Linked DNA regions of Homo sapiens: all the other regions are linked to region 2. The links are contacts of gene promoters, found by promoter capture Hi-C in blood cells and fetal thymus (Javierre and others, 2016). All regions are on one chromosome and are shown on one strand. The core of a region is centred on a gene start or on the middle of the fragment in contact, and the rest is flanking DNA. Distances in the headings are between cores, read along the strand shown. Region 1 holds the start of ZNF639 (zinc finger protein 639). Region 2 holds the start of ATP11B (ATPase phospholipid transporting 11B (putative)). Region 3 overlaps PIK3CA-DT (PIK3CA divergent transcript). Region 4 overlaps MRPL47 (mitochondrial ribosomal protein L47). Region 5 overlaps ACTL6A (actin like 6A). Region 6 overlaps NDUFB5 (NADH:ubiquinone oxidoreductase subunit B5). Region 7 has its middle 3.2 kb from the start of MFN1.

Region 1 (2,700 bases), core at 45-2,544, 3.5 Mb after region 2:
ATCTTTCCACCTGTCATTTTTTTCAACCAACAAGAAAGTCTATGCACAAAATAGAATACATACAACAGGCAGTCAGCAATCATCAAATAGATAAACGTTTCAAAAGGCCTTTCATGCAATGTATATTCTTCCTAATTGCTGTAAGACGTCTTTACAGTAAATAACTCCATTTTTAACGAGTTTAAAAAGAGTTAAGCTTTCTTTTTCGTTCTCATTAAAATAAGCATATGCTTTAAATTGTAAAAGAATTGAAACAAAAACATGTTGCAGGAGAGCCTGAACTAGAATCCACTACATGTCCAACGTGGAGGCAGTCTTTACTGCAATATCACACGGTCACTAAATACTTGATTCGCTATTTTTCAGTCCGGCATAAATCTTTCTCTTCGAAAAAAACAAAAAAGGCATAAACTGCTTCAAATGATTCGTTTCCCTAGACAGTACTTAAAGACAAAACCAAAAAAGGGGGTTTCTAAGCACCGTCACACGAGTGAGGCGACTCTCAGGCTGGAGGCTTTGGGCGCCAGCATCGACGCCTGCTCTCCGCGGCTACAACTCGTTGCGCGAGCCCGGGGATTCGCCGCCGGAGGTCACGAAGCCGCCGGGCAGGGCCGCAGCGCCAGCGAGGACCCAGGATCGTCCCGAGCCCGGACGCAGCCAGACAAATGCCCGTCGGAGGCGCAGGGCAGAAGTCCCTGGGACTTAGCCGCCTCCACCCCGGCGCCACGCACCAGCTTCGCCCGGGCCCAGAAGCCGGCGCCAAGGAGACTTCCAAGCCCCGACACCAAAGGTTCCGTAAAGACAACGGCAGCAGGGGGCCGAGGGGAGCCCGGCCAAGGCGTCCTGCGCAGGGGGTGGAACTGCCTTCGGGATGGGGGAGGGGAACGCCATCCCGCCATATAACGAAGGCAGAGTTTCCGTATAAAGGGAGCTCCGGTCTCTCCCGCCCTCTCCCGTTAGAAGATGCGCCCGCACGCCCGCGTCCCCTGGAGCAGTCCAGCGCCCGACCCACCCGCTCCTCCCTCACACTCACCAGTCAGTCCCCCGAGGCCCTCCCGGCCGGCCCACGCAGAGGCGGCGGCGGCCGAGAGCGCAGGCGGAGGGGCCGCGCGGTCCTTCCCGCGGACGCACGGCGGCGGGCAGCGCTGCTCCGGCCCTAGCGCTCCCGGACGCTGTGCTGGGCCGACCCCTCTCCCTCCCCGCGCGCCCCACGCCCTGAGCGCCAGGCCCCTGGCCTAGGCTCCGCGGCCGCACTGCCCTGGCCGCCACGCTCCGCGCCTGCGCCGCGCACCTCAGGGGCCCGCCGAGAGGGCGGGGAGGTGACGAGGTGAGGTGGGGGCAGGGAGCGGGCTGCGCGAACGCACCGCACACGCGGCCTGGGAGGGACCACCGGCCCGCAGCCCCGGGGGAGGCCCAGCGGCCCGCGCCCCCTGCCGGAGGCCTTGCGCCGCCGCAGTCTCCTTCTGGGCGGGGAAGAGCCCCTCCCGAGCCCCGAGGGCGATCCCACCCTCTAGGATTACTCCACGCCAGGCGGCCAGCGAATTTATCCCGCCCGCCTCCACCGCCCCTTCAAGCCCTGGGGAACTGGGAGAAACGTGGCGCGCAGCGGCACCTTTCCCACGCTGCTCCTCAAGGGAAAGGACGCGAGTGGTCTTGCCCAGGTTAGGCAAGGCAGATGGCATCTCAGACCCCGAAGTGTGCCAGCCGCCTGTTGGGGACAGAGAGGCCGAGGACCTCGTCACGGTTTTACTGAGGCCACACCAGAGAACCACCTAGGGCTAGGATGCTGCCCTCAGGGCAAGAGGGTGAAACCTGAAGACTGCGAGTCGTTGTTGAGTTTCACCCGATTCCTTGGCTCGAGAAATAGTGGAATGAATGAGGAGTTAAGGGGGACTGGACTCGACGATTTAAGTCCTTTCTCGACTTTGACTTTCTTTGAGCAGCTGTAGAAATGATTAAATTACACGAGCATAAATAAATTTGTGAACATGGTTCCATAAATGATCTCTGTGCAAGTGTGGTGATATGTTTAATTCAGTCCTTTTGACAATGAGTTGAGGTTTTTAGTCACATTTTACAAAATGGAAAAGTAAATGTGTGAGAAGCTAAAGACTGGGTCTTAATTCATTTTGGTAGCCTAAACCCCTGAGGTTCAAACGGTTAAGAGGATGACTGAGAGCCATGTGGATTATCAGGTACCCAAGGTCACTCGGATAGTTAGGGCTGCAATGATGTCTCTTTGTTCACGTCCACTGCTTTTTCTGACAACCACATGCCAATCAACCAATCAATCGCTGGAAAGTAATAATCACAGACTTTACTCTGATCCCTTCACCATCCCCCAGGAGATAAAGCTATATTTGAAAGAGACACTACTTGTTTGTGAGGCTCAGTTTTTATGACCTCCTAAGTTTTATGTGCGTACTCAGCTCAAATAAATGCTCACGAATGCTAGTATGGCCCGAATTAAAGTTCGAAGAAATGTAGAGACATTTTTAAATCCTAGAATAGTTAGTATCTAGCACAGAACCGGGAATCGGTGGAAACCACAAGGGGGTGTCATGCCACCATCTTACCATTTTGCCTTACCACATAGCCTTGTGTCCAACAAAATCTTTATATTTCAAAATGAAGTTTTACTCCAAAACATTTTGTAGTGAAAGTAAACGCACACTCTCCCCAGCATCCCACGTATTGTTT
Region 2 (2,700 bases), core at 90-2,589:
CTTGTAGAAGCATTAAGTTAATGCGATTTAGAAATTAAATAGTAACCGGCCTCATCACACAGATAAGGTTAGGCTTCTTCAGCCAGGGGCAATTTCTGTCCTAATTGTCACAGCTGCCTTAATGCTGTACTTTCTGCGCTGTAGCTGCCAGGAGGCAGATAAGATTTTTCTCTCTGAATTAATTCTGGGAAAGGTGGCACTTTTTATAGGCCTTAAATGACCCTTTTCTAAGATTTTTTGTTGGTGGTGTCCAGATGTTCCAATAATACTGGAGAGTTAACTATTCCTTCCAAACCTGTGTCGTTCAAACTGCCTTGAGGAGAACGGGAAAAAAGTAAGGTTCACACTCGAAAAGTTTCACTCGGGGTGGGGTGAGGACGAGGTAGGAAGGAAACGACAGTACGTATCGTTCGTAACTATCGTACAATACGTATCGTTTCCGAAGCTAGACCGGCAGCTGGCACAGTCTTTCCCCTTTCCAGGTCCTGGGGAGAAACGTCTCTCGCTGAGGGGGCTAGACACCTACGACAGCCTCCTCCTCGGGAATCAACACAGCTCTGGATCGTGACACGCTTCCAGAAGTCCGTGACGAGTGGGGGCAGAAGACAGGTTCTTCGCTTCCCCTTCACCCAAACACGTCCCAAATTGTTCGAGGCAGGAAGAGCACGCCTCTCTCATCTCCCCAAGACCTACTCTCGCTCAGCTCCCTCGCCCTGTTTCCTCTGGGGGCACCGCCACCCCGCTCGGGACTCCCGCCTCTGGCCACAGCAGCCCCGGAGCGGCAAGGGGGAAGAAGTAACGGAGAAGCGCCGGCTAGAAGCGGCCGCCTCCGGCCGCTCGGCGCCAGCCTCGGCGGCCCGGGCTTGGAGGCGAGACGAGCCCGGGAGCCGCACGGGGCTTCTCCGGCTCTGGGCCCCGCGCCCGTCTCCGCTGCGGCCTAGCCGGGCGCCCACGCCCTGGCCTCCCGGCTCCGCGCCGCCGGCCTTTCCCCGCCACCCCGGGCCGAGAGGCCCCGCGGGGGCGGACGAATGGAGGTGGAGGGGCGGGGGCACCTACCAGCTGCTGCCGGATCCAGCGCCACATTCCCCCGTCGTCGCCGTCCGGGTCCCGCGGGGCGCGGGGGCCGCGGGGCTGCAGGTGGAGGCCGACAAGACAGAGGCGGGAGCGGGCGAGCCCCTCGGGCCGAAGTTCCGCTTACCGCCGCCGCCGCCACTGCCTCACTCCCCGCGCCGCGTCCCCATCCCGCGGCGTCGGCCCCGAGTCCTACAGGCGCGGCCCCGGCGCCGCCCCCGCCCGGCGCAGCTGAGCCTGCCGCCGCGCCGCAGCCACCTTCATTATTGACCGTTGTCACCCAAAGCACCCCCGCAACCCCACCCCCGCCCCGCCCCGCCCGGCCCCCCGGCTCCACCCGGGACCGCCCCCGGCGCCCCGGCCCGCCCCCGGACGTGACGAAAGGGGGTGCGCGGACCGAGGGGGGCCTGGCGCGCCCCGCCGCCGTTCCGAGTTGGGGGGTTTCTGTGTTGTGGGTCCGGGAAGAAGCGAGCGTGGAAAGGTGCCGGGTTCTCGAACGCTGTTTCTGTCCACTGCCACCCTCCTCCCCGTTCTGGGAGTGGGATTAAGTCGTGTCTGTGGGTCTGGCCATCTCCGGAGTCTGCAGCTTGGGGCCGATTCCTCGGTCTCTACCTCCTGTTGCAGGTCTTTTTCGGGCTCTGTGGCTTCTTTGGTTCACGCGTCTCCCGACACGCATACGCACAGTCCTGAACGTATGTGACTGAAAGTTAATCCCCCCAGAAGTCCCAGTTTGGGTTCCATCAAGCTGTAAGAGCTTTCGTCTCAACACAAGTCAGGCCTCTTCTTTAGCAAATGGCTGAGACGGGGCTAGGGAAATCTTGATCACACCCATTAAGTGATTCGAAAGCGTTGCAAGTCCCCTGAGCCTGGTACAGCCTGGACCCGTGTTTCTAGGCGAATGGATGAGATATTCTGTCTTGCCGTGTGCTAAATTGGACAGGTTCAGGGGAAGATAATTTGTATAAAAAGGTAGTTCTTTACTGCTAACTGCCAAACTTCTGCAATCAAAAACACCCGTAGCAGTAACTTGACCTAGGTTAAAAAAGTGTGTGGATGACAAGCTCAGAAGGAATATACAAGCAACTGGAACAAGGCTTTGACTTAAAGGTTTGGCGTTGTTTAAAAGCAGCCCCGTATACATATTGTGTTATGTATATGTATTGAATGCTGTATTTTTGCTGAATTAAAGCACACTTCACCGACAGACGTTTGTGGTTAAAAAAAAAAAAATTAAGCGGCCGGGCGCGGTGGCTCACGCCTGTAATCCCATGTAATCCCAGCACTTTGGGAGGCCGAGGCGGGTGGATCACGAGGTCAGGAGATCGAGACCTTCCTGGCTAACATGGCGAAACCCCATCTCTACTAAAAAATACAAAACATTAGCCGAGCGTGGTGGCGGTCGCCTGTAGTCCCAGCTACTCGGGAGGCTGAGGCAGGAGAATGACGTGAACCCGGGAGGCAGAGCTTGCAGTGAGCCGAGATGGCGCCACTGCACTCCAGCCTGGGCGGCAGAAGGAGACTCCGTCTCAAAAAAAAAAAAAAAAAAAAAAAATTAAGCAAGAACAAATCTAAATGAGATTAGCATGACTAGGCAGGTCGTTGAATATGCATCCTCAATCTTCTAGTTTC
Region 3 (2,746 bases), core at 215-2,714, 3.6 Mb after region 2:
GGTTTATTTCCATTGAAAATCATAACTGATACTCAAATATGCACCGAAACATTCTCTAATAGCGCTTAAGTCACTACTAAGCTTTGAAGTCCTTTGTAAATAAGAGTCAAGTTGATTATGTAGCAGTATACTTTAGATGTATAAAATTGCCAAGTCAAACAATAAAAACACACCAAGAGATAACGATATGAGTTACCATGTAGCACTGTTTTTTTTTTTTTTTTTTTTTTTTTGAGATGGAGTCTCGCTCTGTCACCCAGGCTGGAGTGCAGTGGCGCGATCTTGGCTCACTGCAACCTCTGCCTCCCAGGTTCAAGTGATTCTCCTGCCTCAGCCTTCCGAGTAGCTGGGACTACAGGCACGTGCCACCACGCCCGGCTAATTTTTGTATTTTTAGTAGAGACGGGGTTTCACCATATTGGTCAGGCTGGTCTTGAACTCCTGACCTCATGATCCGCCCGCCTTGGCCTCCCAAAGTGCTGAGATTACAGGTGTGAGCCACCACGCCTGACCGAGACTCCATCTTAAAAAAAAAAAAACCATACACCCACACACACATACACACACGTACTTTTAAGATTTCAGTTCTTTTCAAGTTAAGATTTGTGTTGCCCCAGAATATCTTGGTGAATGTCCCATGTGCACTTATGAAAGAATATTTTGTTTGCTATTGTTGGGCAGAATGTAGTTTCTTACCAAGTTGATGATTTTGTTAGCATTGATGTTTCAAAATATAATTGTGGATTTCTTTATTTCTCATTTCACTTCTGTGTATTTTTACTTTGTGTGTTTTGAAGCTTTGTTGTTAGATGTATACACATTTAGAACTCTTGTGTTTTGATACATTGACTCTTTTTAATCAATCTGTACTATCTCTCTTTATTCCTAGTAATATCTTTGTTCTGAAATCTACTTTGTCTGATATTAATACAGCCAGTCCAGCTTTTTTTGATTAATTTTTCCATGGTATTTTTTCCCATCTTTTTTATATCTATTTTTATATTTAAAGTGAGTTACTCGTAGACAACACGTATTAGATCTCTTTTTAAAAATTCCAATCTGACAATTTCTGTGTTTTAATTGCTGTGTTTAATTTACATTTAATGTAATTATATGGATTTAGGCTTGCCATTTTATTATTTGTTTTCTGTTTTTCCTCTATACTTTTGTTTTTATGTTTCTACTTTCCTGCTTTCTTGTGGATTATTTGAAAAATTTTTAATATTCCATTTTAATTTCTATATTGTAGTTTTAATATATTTCTTGGTAATTTTTTGGTAATTCTATGGATTATAATATACATACCTAAAGTTTTGCGGTCTACTTAGTATTACTATTACACCACTTCAAGTAAAATGTAGAAAGAAGCCTTGCAACCGTGTAGATTTACCACTGTCTCCTACCCCACTCCCTGACCTTTATGTCATTAGTTGGCATATGTATTACATTTATATATATGGAAGCCCCATCAGATGTTTTTATAATTTTTGCTTTCAACAGTCATATAGAACTCAAGAGGAAAAATAATCTTTTATATTTACGTATCCATTTACATTTATGTTTTGCTTCATTCCTGAAAATCCATTTTTCCTTCTGGTATAATTTCCCTTTATCCTGAAGAATTTTAACATTCTTTTTAGAGAAAGTCTGCTTGTGACAAATTCCCTTCATTTTCCTTCATTTGAGAATATTTTACTTTTGCCTTCATTTCTGCAAAATATTTTAGCTGATTATACAATTCTCGGTTAATGGTTTTCTCCCCTCCCTGACCCATCAGTACTTTAAAGAATCATCATTGCATTTCTTAGGAGATGAAGAGCAAACCCTGTACTTTCCTCAAAATTCCACTATGTGAGCTAAGAGATCTAGTATCTGAGAAGTTCACCTTAAAACACTTAACAGTCAATGTTTTTCATTCCAGCCATGCCTTGCCTAGAGTCAGATATGAATGTCATTACTATCACACAACCATGTTAAAGTCTAACTGCTCTACTTACACTTAGCACGGGAGGATTCTGGCAAAGCTCCTTTCCATACTTGAAATACAAAACAATTCTGGCCACAGAAAGGAGACAAATGTGTAATGTTCTCAAGTTACCAGGAGTGCACTTATGGAGAAATCAAAGCTTTGAAATTCGTAAAAGACTATTTTCAGCCAGGTGTGTTGGCTCACGCCTGTAATCCCAGCACTTTGGGAGGCTGAGGTGGGTGGATCACTTGAGCCCAGCAGTTTGAGACCAACCTGGGCAACAGGGCGAAACGCCGTCTCTACAAAATAATACAAAAAAATTAGCCGGTCCTAGTGGCATGCATCTGTAGCCCCAGCTACTCGGGTGGCTGTTGCTGAGGTGGGAGGATCCGCTGAGCCCAGGAGTTTGAGGCTGCAGTGTGCTGTGAGCATGTCATTGCACTCTAGCCTAGGCGACAGAGCAAAACCATGTCTCCAATAAGTAAATAAATAAATTAATTTAAAAAACATAAAAAAGACTATTTTCAGGTCTCATCTGTGGTCATTCAAATAGTTTCCCCCAATACGTAATTTTTCTTTTTTCTCTGGATTATATCAAGATTTAAAAATTTAGTTGGGAGGCCGAGGTGGGTGGATCACGAGGTCAGGAGATCGAGACCATCCTGGCTAACATGGTGAAACCCCGTCTCTACTAAACAATACAAAAAATTAGCCGGGTGTGGTGGCGGGCGCCTGTAGTCCCAGCTACTCGGGAGGTTGAGGCAGGAGAATGGCGTG
Region 4 (2,700 bases), core at 78-2,577, 3.2 Mb after region 2:
AAAATTAGCCGGGTGTGGTGGCAGGTGCCTGTAATCCCAGCTGCTCAGGAGGCTGAGGCAGGAGAATTGCTTGAACCTGGAAGGTGGAGGTTGCAATGAGCCAAGATCACGCCACTGCGCTCTAGCCTGAGTGACAGAGCAAGACTCTGTCTAAAAAATATATATATGTATAAAACCCTGCCAATATATACATTATAAAACAATAGAAATCTTAAAGAGGTAAAAATAAATAGAAGTTTAATAGTATCATCTTGCATCTTGATAAATCTTTGGAGATTCATATCTGGATGGACTGCTATTCCTTTCCCTGTAGTAGCAACAGCTACCAAGCAGGCCACAATATCTGTGTCTGCATGTCAAGGACACAGTGATTAGTTGAGACCAGAACATGTCTTTTTTAATATAATGAAAATAGCAAATTATTATCACTTCTTATTAGCTCATTGAGTTTTGAAATAACATGAATCAAATTGGGTCTCCAAAAGGAATCTATGTAAGTGTATCTCACTCCAAACAAAACTAATGGAAATATATTTGTAGTTAAAACTGTAAGCTTTTTAAAAAATACAGAAAGTGGTAATCTAGACACCCATGTAGACATACTTGTGCCAAAAAGATTTTTAGGAAATACTTAACAGAGTGGTTCTTTGGCATAAATATTCATAAGTTTTCTGTAGCAGAAGTGTTTATACATTCTCTTTTTTGGGAATTTTGTAGTAGATGATTGTTGAAATTGTATCTTTCTATTCTCTTTTCAGGTAGTAGATTCCATGGATGCATTAGATAAAGTTGTCCAGGAAAGAGAAGATGCCCTAAGGCTTCTTCAGACTGGTCAAGAAAGAGCTAGACCTGGTGCTTGGAGAAGAGACATCTTTGGAAGAATCATCTGGTATGTAGTTAACACTGTGGCTCTTCTAAGATGAGAGTGGAAATCCATGCCTCATTCCCCTGCCCAATATCTTTTAAAAAAAAATTTGTACCATATGAGATAATATTAGAGATATGTCTAATAAAAGAAGAGGCCCCACACCCCTTTGGACTTTAATGAAGGAGGATATGAATGAAGGTAGCTTTATCTGGTAAAACCAGCCCAGACATCCCATTCCTATGATTCAGTTACCTATAAGTCTTTATTGTAGTGGTTCTTAGTCTTATATGAATCACAAGGCCTTTTGAGAATTTGATGAAAGTTAGGGATCGTTTCCTCAGAAAAATGTACATGTACACATATCACTTCAGAAGGTATAAAATCCATGAAGCTAACTTCAGGACACACACCTGCCCTCTTTGCACATTGAGAACCTGGAACTATTTTTTTTAAAGTCTCAGGGAATGTCACATGAACCAGTTTCAGTTTGCTCCCACTGCCATCAGGATAAGCCCTAGGGCAAATTATGAAGTAGTTTATTTTTTATACCTCCTTGTTTCTCCTACATTCAAATCCCAGAGTCTTGTCAGCCTTTGGGAAAGGATCTGGTAATCAGCCTTCATGCTGAGGTGTAAATAACTGAGAAGACCTGGTGTAAATAAACCTCCTTCGGTGGGGAGGCTGTTCAACCCAAAGGTAAATAAACCTCCCCTCAGAAAGAGGTTTATTTACCTTTGGGCTGAACAACCAAGATGAAATATCATTAGACTTTTAAACGTAGGCAGAATGGGGAAGGCATTTTGGTTAGAGACCTTCCCTGTACTCTTGACATTATACCACTTAACTCATAACTCATTCGGTAGGTTCTTTTAATGGGGTTTAAGTCCAACACAGAAAAGAGAAATTGCCAAAGCATCTCACTAAAAATGTTTATGTTTTATTTTCTACTAATTTTTATTTGGACTAACCCTTTTGAGGTAAATTAGGAAAGTGAAAATGTATTAAATGTTTTCTTTAAGGCAAATAACTTTTTGCTTTATTGGCAGGCACAAGTTCAAGCAGTGGGTTATACCTTGGCACCTAAATAAAAGATACAATAGGAAACGATTCTTTGCCTTGCCTTATGTGGACCATTTTCTCAGGTGAGCACAAGCACCTTTAATAAAACATATTATCTTTATACCAGATGACATATGGTCATATATCATACCAGATGACATAAAGAAAGCTTAAGCTGTCTTTAAATTTTAATTTCTGTTATTACATAAGTATTATAAAAAATAGGAAAGTCAGGCTGGGTGCGGTGGCTCACACCTGTAATCCCAGCACTTTGGGAGGCCGAGGTGGGTGGATCACGAGGTCAGGCGATCGAGACCATCCCGGCTAACATGGTGAAACCCCGTCTCTACTAAATATACAAAAAATTAGACGGACATGGTGGTGGGCACCTGTAGTCCCAGCTACTTGGGAGGCTGAGGCAGGAGAATGGCGTGAACCCGGGAGGCAGAGCTTGCAGTGAGCAGAGATCGCGCCACTGCACTCTAGCCTGGGTGACAGAGTGAGACTCCGTCTCAAAAACAAACAAACAAACAAAATAGGTAAAAAAGAAAATTGAAGTCATATATAAGCTCACCTTCAGAAATAGCCACAGTCAGCCAAGCGTGTTGGCTCATGCCTGTAATCCCAGCACTTTGGGAGGCCAAGGCAGGCAGATTACTTGAGGTCAGGAGTTTGAGAACAGCCCGGCCAAAGTGACAAAACCCCATCTCTACTAAAAATACAAAAATTAGCCGGCCATGGTAGCATGTGCCTGTAATCTCAACTACTTAGGA
Region 5 (2,833 bases), core at 64-2,563, 3.2 Mb after region 2:
CTTCTAGATATATAGAACTTCTTTTTGGTCCCTCCAGCCCCCAGACCTGTCCCAAATGTAATTAATCTAACAGACCTAAAATATGAAGTAAATGTTATTCAATTCAATAAATACTTATTAGAGGCCCAGAATGTGATCAGAATGATAATAGGAAGTACAGAAGAATTGTATGGCCTTCTGATGATACTACTGCTGGATTTATAAAAAAAAAAAAAAAAGAAAGAATTGTATGGTCTAGACCCGACACTCAAAAAAACTTACAATCTATTTGGAAAAAGACTAAAAGACATGTTAAAAATTCAAAGAAGAGCATCTGTCTTCAATTTGGCTTCCACCTAAACATTCCATTAAAACTACTGACATAAGTCACTAATGACCTTCTTTTTTCTTTTTTTTGAGATGGAGTCTCGTTCTGTCCCCCACACTGGAGTGCAATGGCACAATCTCAGCTCACTGCAACCTCCGCCTCCTGGGGTCAAGCAATTCTCCTCCCTCAGGCTCCCGAGTAGCTGGGATTACAGGTGCCCGCCACCGTACCCAACTAATTTTTGCATTTTTAGTAGAGACAGGGTTTCACCATGTTGGCCAGGCTGGTCTCGAACTCCTGACCTCAGGTGATCCACCCACCTCAGCCTCCAAAGTGCTGGGATTACAGGCGTGAGCCACCGCCCCCAGCCACTAATGACCTTCTACTAGGCAAATTCATGGATACTTAACATTTTTAATCTCATCTGACTTCTCTAAATTATGACAGTATTGCCTACACAAGAGTTTACAAACTTTTCTGTCACAGCCCAAAGAAAAAATGTCATTAATTATATATTTCCACAGGCCCACCTGGATTTTTTTAACTTCTTTCTTAGTGTAAAGCTTTCAATGTCACAGCAGAAAACACCGAGAATAACTGGAATTTTATGCTTCCAGAAACTTTTTCTTTTCTTGTTCTTCCCCTGCTTTTTTTCCTACATCCCTAATTGTTCCCTTTCTTTCTCCTTCAAGGGTACCTTTTATTCTCTATTGGTTAAAATATACAACAAGTTTTTGCTAGAACTCCATCTTCAATCCTCTTCTCATGTTCCAATTTTTTTCAGAGTAATAAAATGCAACTCCATGTCTTAAAATCTTTCTTATAACCTTTTATTCCCGTTTACTGAATTATCACCTGGATGTTCTAAGTACTTTGAACTCAGTGAACCCATTTACTTACTACACATGAAAGAGTTAACACTGCAAGCCTGAGAAAGGCCTGCTTGTAAGGCTGACTCTTAGCTGGTGTCTGGAAACATGACTGGCAAACAGTTCCCTATGTTCATATAAAACTTGTCCCTAAATGGTAAGGGTAGCTCGCTATACCTACACTGTTTATACAATGTGGTTTGTTCTGAACACTTGCTTTCCTTCTGAGAATCTAAAATTTTGTTACATGCCAGGTAGATGGTACCTACATAACCAGCCCTCTGTAAAATCCTTGGGTACTGAGCCTCAGAGTTCTCCTGGAAGGTAACACAGATCATAACTTGTTGCTGGAGGGATTAAGCACATCCTGTGTGACTCCACTGTGAGAAGACTCTCCAAAGCCTGTATCTGGACTTCATCATCCCCTGTCCCTTTTCCCTTTGTCGATTTTGTTTTGTATCTGAATCTTCAGTACAATAAATCTTAGCTGTGAATACAACCATATGCTGAGTCCTGTGAGTGAGTCTTGCTGGTGAATAATTGAACCTGAGAGTGATTTTGGCTATCCCTGATAAGCTTGTTTTTTTTTTTTGTTTTTTTTTTTGAGACAGAGTCTCACTCTGTCACCCAGGTTGGTGTGTAGTCATGAGATCTCAGCTGCAACCTCTGCATCCTGGGTTCAAGTGATTCTCATGCCTCAGCCTCCCAAGTAGCTGGAATTACAGGTGGTACGCATCACCACACCTGTCAAATTTTTGTATTTTTAGTAGAGATGGGGTTTCGCCATGTTGCCCAGGCTGGTCTCAAACTCCTAGACTCAAGCAATCCACCCACAGTCTCAGCCTCCCAAAGTGCTGGGATTATATAGGCGCGAGCCACCACGCATGGCCAACCATGCCTTTTAAAACCGTAACACTTGCTCCTTCCCTTTATATTCCTATCTCAATGCATGGTACTCTCTGTTCAGAGTTACCCCAACCAAAAATCTAGGAAACTTTCTCAACTTCTCTCTTGCTTTCACTCCCTCGATCATTTAGTACCATTTGTCTCCTGGTTACCCTGAAAGTCCCTTCAGAATCTCTACCAGCATTATATAATAGTTTAAACCTTTTTCATTTCTCATCTGGACTCTGACCATCACATCTGTTTAAATTCCTTTGGGGTTATCCTTCAGTCACTAGCTTAATACAACCCTGGGATGGTTTACAAGCCCTTTTATGACTGCTCCCTGCCTACCTTTCCTGCTACTGCTCTCTGCCTACCTTTCCTGCTACTGACCCTAATAAGCCCAATGCTGCAACCATACTTAATTGTATTACATTTTCAAGCACATAAGTTTCTTTCACAATTCCATCCCTTCACACATGCTGGTCCCTTTGCTTTACCCAGCTTTGTCAGCCAAGCTAATTCTTACTCATTGATCAAGATTCATCATGTTACCTCCTTTGTGAAAACCATCACTGACTCCCAACACTAGAGTCAAATACCTCTCCTCTCTAATCCCATTGCTCATTGCACATACCTATATTGTACCACTTATCCCACAGTGTACCATTATTTGTATATATACATCTATTTCCCCCAACTAACTGTAAGCTTTTAATGAAAAGGAACATTTCTTATGCATCTTTGTATTCTCAGTGTCTGGAAATCAGTT
Region 6 (2,700 bases), core at 85-2,584, 3.2 Mb after region 2:
GATGAAATAATAAATATTTGTAAAACACTCAGCACAGTACCTGTTACATAGTAGGTGCTCAATAAATGACAGCTAGCATTAACATTGGTGAAGTCTCTCCTAAGGCATTGAACTTAGGATAAATTATGTTACTCTGTTAGGCTGAGAACACACTGCAATCATTCTTTAAAAAATTGTAAAGCTTAAAATGATTTTTTTAAAAATGAAGTACCAAAATTCGTTGTTTATAAAAAGTATGCAAAAAAATGTATCTGCTTGATATAAAAAATGAAATATAAAACTCTATCATGGCTGGTCACAGTGGCTCACACATTTAATCCCAGGACTTTGGGAGGCTGAGGTGGGTGGATCACTTGAGGCCAGGAGTTCCAGAAAAGCCTGGCCAACATGGTGAAATCCTGTCTCTACTAAAAATACAAAAATTAGCCAGGAGTGGCAGCACACACCTGTGATCCCAGCGACGTGGGAGACTGAGGCATGAGAATCGCTTGAATGCGGGAGGCAGAAGTTGCAGTGAGCTGAAATCGCGCCACTGCACTCCAGCCTGGGCAACAGAGCGAGATGCTGTCTCAAAAAAAACAAAACAAAAAACCTGACTATATCATAATTGCTGAATTAAGACATTAACTAGTGCGTTGACAAGGCATGTAACAGTATGTAATTGTCAATGTCCTATACAAACCTTATAATATTCCCAGTGTTCTGGGACATAGCCTTCTGGAATTTCTGCTAGTTCAGCTTGACCTAATAAGAAAAAATGGTTATGTTTAACTTTAGCATGAGGAGTTTATAAAATTAATTATTCACCATTAAAGTAAGAAACCAACTTCTTGTGGTTTTAAAGGATTCTTTAAAAAATTTGTACCAATGAAGATATGTAGTATTTTTAATTCACTTTAATCTGGTTGAAAATCAATTCATTTGTTAGACATTTTTAGACATCTCTCTGTGTAAGGCATTATTTATAGGTATTCCATGAGTTTCTCATTTTGTTTTTCTATACTGTAACAAGATATAATAAAAGACATATTATTCCTTCTGGTCTTCCCTATACCTATGATACAAAACATTTTAGGATTCAAGGTGTTAGAAGTACTTTGAACAAAATTTCCCACGAAAATCTAATGTTTACTGTCATTGACACTTTCAGTCTTTGTAAGAGGATTATAGTTTTTTTTTGGGGGGGGGACAGAGTCTCACTCTGTTGCCCGGGCTGGAGTGCGATGGCGCCATCTCAGCTCACTGCAACCTCCACCTCCTGGGTTCAAGCCATTCTCCTGCCTCAGCCTCCCGAGTAGCTGGGATTACAGGCGCCTGCCACCACGCCCAGCTAGTTTTTTGTATTTTTAGTAGAGACGGGGTTTCACTATGTCAGCCAGGCTGGTCTCGAACCCCTGACCTCATGATCTGCCCGCCTCGGCCTCCCAAAGTGCTGGGATTACAGGCGTGAGCCACTGTGCCTGGCCGAGGATTATAGTTTTATATGTTCTAGGATGGATTAAAAAATTCTTAGTTCAGATTGAGATTTGGTTATTTTAAGATAAACTGCCATGCTTATGCTTAATTATTTAAAGAGCTTTTCATTACAATATCCATAATTTCTTTTTTATATTAATGTACATATGTTTAAAAATTTTTCCAATCTGGTGGTGCTGGCAGGGGATGGAAGTGACTTACCAATGAATACATTCACCAGAGTTATGAAAATTGCTACTGGAATCCCAGTCAATGCAATGTAGAATCTCTAAGATAAAAAAAAAAGTGTTTCTCATGACCATTTCGTAACTCTCCCCACACACAAATCATCCTCATGATATGATTTCCTCATATTTCTTATAAAATAAACTTGCCAAATTGGGCATACAGTACCAAATTATTGATTTCTGTGATTTTACTTTTTGGTAAAGCAATGCCATGAAAGAAAATAATATGTTAAGAACAAAAGTCTAAAAGCATCAGGGTGATTTCTACCACTAAATAGGATTTGAGCTGGTCATAACAAGAAAAGTAAGGGCTCAACCAAGGAGATGAAAAAGGTCATTAAACACAACGGAAGGGCAAGAGAAAGTTTTAAGGTCAGTACTCAAATGATGATTCAGAGCTTTATCTACCGTGGCAGATGGTCCAGACAATCTCCCATTTTCTAAGCCTCTACTTTGTTCGTATAGAGCCTTGAGACAGAAATATAGTCAGCATTCTAAATAAGCAATGTAATTATATTATTGCTAAATTAAGATTGCACTATAGATCCCTGTTACTCTCTGAAATAAATGTTCCTGAACAACATATAAATATAAAATCATATCCCAAAATAATGTAGCTCCTTTATTTAAGCAAGTCTTTCAACAAGTTCTTTGGTAATTTAAAGAATATTTTAGTTATAGGAACACAGATTCTATTTCGAAACGCCATAATCTTCAGAAGAAAGGAATGGTTCAAGTTTTACCTCCATTTAGTGTAAATCCTTTTGTGAAGAAGGAAAGCTTCACTAATTTAAAGAGAAATTCAATAACAAATCAGACTTTACAGTCTCAGTATCTTCTACAGAAAGAAATATAAATTTACAAAATAAAATATTTCATAAAATGAAAGATGTTTTCTAAAGAGGCAAAAATTTTTTCCCTGTTACATGCAAAGACTTTAATTCAACAAAAAATTTAAACTTACCAATAACTTCAAAAAACGCCTGTCATAGAATCT
Region 7 (2,797 bases), core at 89-2,588, 3.4 Mb after region 2:
GAAGTATAAAATCTGGGAAAACATCAAATACCAAAATTAGACCGAGAAAAAATAGAAAACTCGAATAGGCTAAGTTTCCCACATATTCAAAACTAGCCAGGTCTAGATGATTTTCGGGGTAACTTTCTATTACATGTTTAACGAAAAGATTAATCTTGCCGGGTGCGATGGCTCACGCCTGTAATCCCAGCAGTTTGGATCATGAGGCGTGTGGATCATGAGGTCAGGAGTTCGAGACCAGCCTGTCCAATATGGTGAAACCTTGTCTCTAATAAAAAACACAAAAATTAGCCAGGCGTGGTGGCAGGTGCCTGTAGTCTCAGCTACTCCAGAGGGAGAGGCAGGAGAATCACTTGAATCCGGGAGGCGGAGGTTTCAGTGAGCCAACATCACGCTACTGCACTCCAGCCTGGGCGAAAGAGCAAGACTCAGTCTCCAGAAAAAAAAAAAAAAAAAATTCACACTTATGGACTACAGAGGCAAACATAGGAAATATTAGCTACCTGAGGCCAACGTTGTATTAGAATTATTTTTTTATCCAAGTAGGGTTTTCCTAGGAATACAGAAATCATCAAACAGAAATCAATATAATCCATAATACTGACAGACCAAAGGAGGAAACCCACATTTATCTCAATACATGCAGAAGAAGTACTTGCTAAAGTTTAATATTTATAATAAGTCCTAACATTTATTTTTTATTTGCTATAAGCAAAGCTCTAATATTTATTATTTTTTAAATTATCAACCATTTCTCTTTATTTCCCTTGTTCTCTGCCTATACTTACCCAACTCTTAATATTTAAAGCATGTTGTTACTATTAAAGTATGTGATACTCTTGGAGGAACAAACGATGGAATGTAATTGTGTAAGACACAGATTTACATGCTAATTATGTCCATGGGGAGTTGGTATATGATAAAATTGGTATTATGAATCACTGGGTAAGATAAATTATTTTATCACATTGGAGAAATTGGTTCAATTTAATTAACAAAAATAAAGTTTGAATCATATCTATATACAAATTCAGATGGGTATAAGACCTGAACATGAAAAGTAAAACCAGGCCGGGCGCGGTGGCTCAAGCCTGTAATCCCAGTACTTTGGGAGGCCGAGGCGGGCGGATCACGAGGTGAGGAGATCGAGACCATCCTGGCTAATCCGGTGAAACCTCGTCTCTACTAAAAATACAAAAAAATTAGTCGGTTGTGGTGGCGGGCGCCTGTAGTCCCAGCTACTCGGGAGGCTGAGGCAGGAGAATGGCGTGAATGCCGGAGGCGGAGCTTGCAGTGAGCCGAGATCTCACCACTGCACTCCAACCGGGGCGACAGAGCAAGACTCCGTCTCAAAAAAAAAAAAAAAAGAAAAGTAAAACCAGAAAATTAGGAAAAAACGTAGGAAAATAATTTGGGGACATTTTAGTTGGAGAGAATTTTGTAAAATTAACAGACAGGAGGTACAATGTAAAGGGAAAATGTGATGAATCTATTACATTAAATTTAAGGATTTCTGTTCAAAAAAGTCATCCATAACAGACACATAGGAAATCTATTTTTTGCAGTATATATTGCCAACAAAAATCAATAGTTAAAAATAAAGAACTTCGGAAAATAGAGCAGAAAACCCAACAGAAAAGCAGACAAAGGATAGGGAGAAGCAGTTCACAAAATGAAAGTTAAAATGACTAATAAGCATATTAGATAGTCTCAACCTTGTTAGTAATCAGATTATGCAAATTTAAACAATAATAATGTACTACTTTATGACCTTAAGATTTACAGGAAATTTAAAAGTTGTATGATATTGTTGATAAGCCTGTGCGGAAACATGATCTTGCTGATGGGAGTATAAACTTTAGTCATTCTGCATATATTTTGGAAGTACTGAATCACAAGTATATAAAAAACTGACAAGAACGTGTATGGTAGGTAGCATTATACAAAAGGCAAATACTTGGATACATGAAAGTCAATTTGATATTTAATTGAATTGTAGTTCAGAAAGGTGACAGTTTCCTGCATTATATGGTAAATCTCTTTGAGGTCAAGAACCATAGTTTATCTTTGTATTCCTGAGCACTTGGCTTGATAGTAGATATTCCATAGCTGTTAGTTAAATAGAAGCATAGTAAAATAGTCTTTTTGTTTTGTTTTGTTTTTTTGAGGAGTCTCGCTCAGTTGCCCAGGCTGGAGTGCAATGGCACGATCTAGGCTCACTGAAACCTCCACCTCCCGGATTCAAGTGATTCTCCTGCCTCAGCCTCCCAAGTAGCTGGGATTACAGGCATCCGCCACCATGCTTGGCTAATTTTTCTATTTGTGTAGAGACAGGGTTTCACCATGCTGGCCAGGCTGGTCTCGAACTCCTGACCTCAGGTGATCCACCTGCCTCTCAGCCTCCCAAAGTGTTGGAATTACAGGCGTGAGCCACCACGCCCAGCCTGTAAAAATGGAAGTTTTTAAGGTTAAAAAAAAAAAAAGTTTTTAAGGAAGGGGGTGTCCAATCTTTTGGCTTCCCTGGGCCACACTGGACGAAGCATTGTCTTTGGTCACACATAAAATACACTAACAATAGCTGATGAGCTCGAAAACAAAACAAAACAAAAAATTGCAAATAAATCTCATAACATTTTAAGAAAGTTTACAAATTTGTGTTGGGCCGTGGGTTGGACAAGCTTGTTTTAAGGAGTTGCAGAACCCATGGACTAAGAAAAACTTAGTAACATTACATCTACTGTTCATGGTCATAGTCACACAATTTATTACTACTGAACAGGGATTACAAATCAGAGTC

The links. Contacts are between HindIII fragments. The CHiCAGO score rates a contact against its expected background, and 5 or more counts as called.
Region 1: the fragment with the promoter of ZNF639 here is called in contact with the fragment with the promoter of ATP11B in region 2 in 7 of 17 cell types (activated CD4 T cells, naive CD8 T cells, M2 macrophages and 4 more); the score reaches 9.5 in activated CD4 T cells.
Region 3: a fragment that was not itself captured here is called in contact with the fragment with the promoter of ATP11B in region 2 in 1 of 17 cell types (naive CD8 T cells); the score reaches 5.6 in naive CD8 T cells.
Region 4: a contact is called between a fragment that was not itself captured here and the fragment with the promoter of ATP11B in region 2, in 2 of 17 cell types (M0 macrophages and naive CD8 T cells). The highest score is 7.8, in M0 macrophages.
Region 5: a contact is called between a fragment that was not itself captured here and the fragment with the promoter of ATP11B in region 2, in 1 of 17 cell types (M2 macrophages). The highest score is 6.0, in M2 macrophages.
Region 6: a fragment that was not itself captured here is called in contact with the fragment with the promoter of ATP11B in region 2 in 2 of 17 cell types (M2 macrophages and M0 macrophages); the score reaches 16.4 in M2 macrophages.
Region 7: a fragment that was not itself captured here is called in contact with the fragment with the promoter of ATP11B in region 2 in 1 of 17 cell types (M2 macrophages); the score reaches 6.2 in M2 macrophages.

What each region holds. Positions count from the first base shown.
Region 1 is chr3:179,321,625-179,324,324 of GRCh38, reverse strand. ZNF639 (zinc finger protein 639) reads right to left here and starts at 1,294. Exons shown (of 6, transcript NM_001303426.2): 1 at 1,034-1,294. RefSeq lists an enhancer at 335-384 and silencers at 955-1,094, 1,125-1,564. The HindIII fragment of the contact is 4,241 bases long and covers 199-2,700 here.
Region 2 is chr3:182,792,143-182,794,842 of GRCh38, reverse strand. ATP11B (ATPase phospholipid transporting 11B (putative)) reads right to left here and starts at 1,339. Exons shown (of 30, transcript NM_014616.3): 1 at 1,057-1,339. The coding sequence starts at 1,083. ATP11B-DT (ATP11B divergent transcript) reads left to right here and starts at 1,479. Exons shown (of 3, transcript NR_187316.1): 1 at 1,479-1,763. RefSeq lists a silencer at 755-1,504. The HindIII fragment of the contact is 13,212 bases long and covers 1-2,700 here.
Region 3 is chr3:179,143,037-179,145,782 of GRCh38, reverse strand. The region is part of intron 1 of PIK3CA-DT (PIK3CA divergent transcript); the gene reads left to right. Among named protein-coding and RNA genes, the nearest start is that of PIK3CA-DT, 3.6 kb to the left of the region's middle. The HindIII fragment of the contact is 1,329 bases long and covers 800-2,128 here.
Region 4 is chr3:179,591,954-179,594,653 of GRCh38, reverse strand. It overlaps MRPL47 (mitochondrial ribosomal protein L47), which reads left to right. Exons shown (of 7, transcript NM_020409.3): 5 at 759-889; 6 at 1,915-2,010. Among named protein-coding and RNA genes, the nearest start is that of MRPL47, 11 kb to the left of the region's middle. The HindIII fragment of the contact is 1,543 bases long and covers 556-2,098 here.
Region 5 is chr3:179,570,368-179,573,200 of GRCh38, reverse strand. All of the region lies in intron 3 of ACTL6A (actin like 6A), which reads right to left. It overlaps LOC124909462 (a long non-coding RNA gene), which reads left to right. Exons shown (of 2, transcript XR_007096181.1): 2 at 1,431-1,678. Among named protein-coding and RNA genes, the nearest start is that of ACTL6A, 8.9 kb to the right of the region's middle. The HindIII fragment of the contact is 882 bases long and covers 873-1,754 here.
Region 6 is chr3:179,615,027-179,617,726 of GRCh38, reverse strand. It overlaps NDUFB5 (NADH:ubiquinone oxidoreductase subunit B5), which reads right to left. Exons shown (of 6, transcript NM_002492.4): 2 at 2,668-2,700; 3 at 1,678-1,744; 4 at 683-744. Among named protein-coding and RNA genes, the nearest start is that of NDUFB5, 12 kb to the right of the region's middle. The HindIII fragment of the contact is 2,302 bases long and covers 184-2,485 here.
Region 7 is chr3:179,343,108-179,345,904 of GRCh38, reverse strand. No RefSeq gene overlaps it. Among named protein-coding and RNA genes, the nearest start is that of MFN1, 3.2 kb to the left of the region's middle. The HindIII fragment of the contact is 2,685 bases long and covers 1-2,680 here.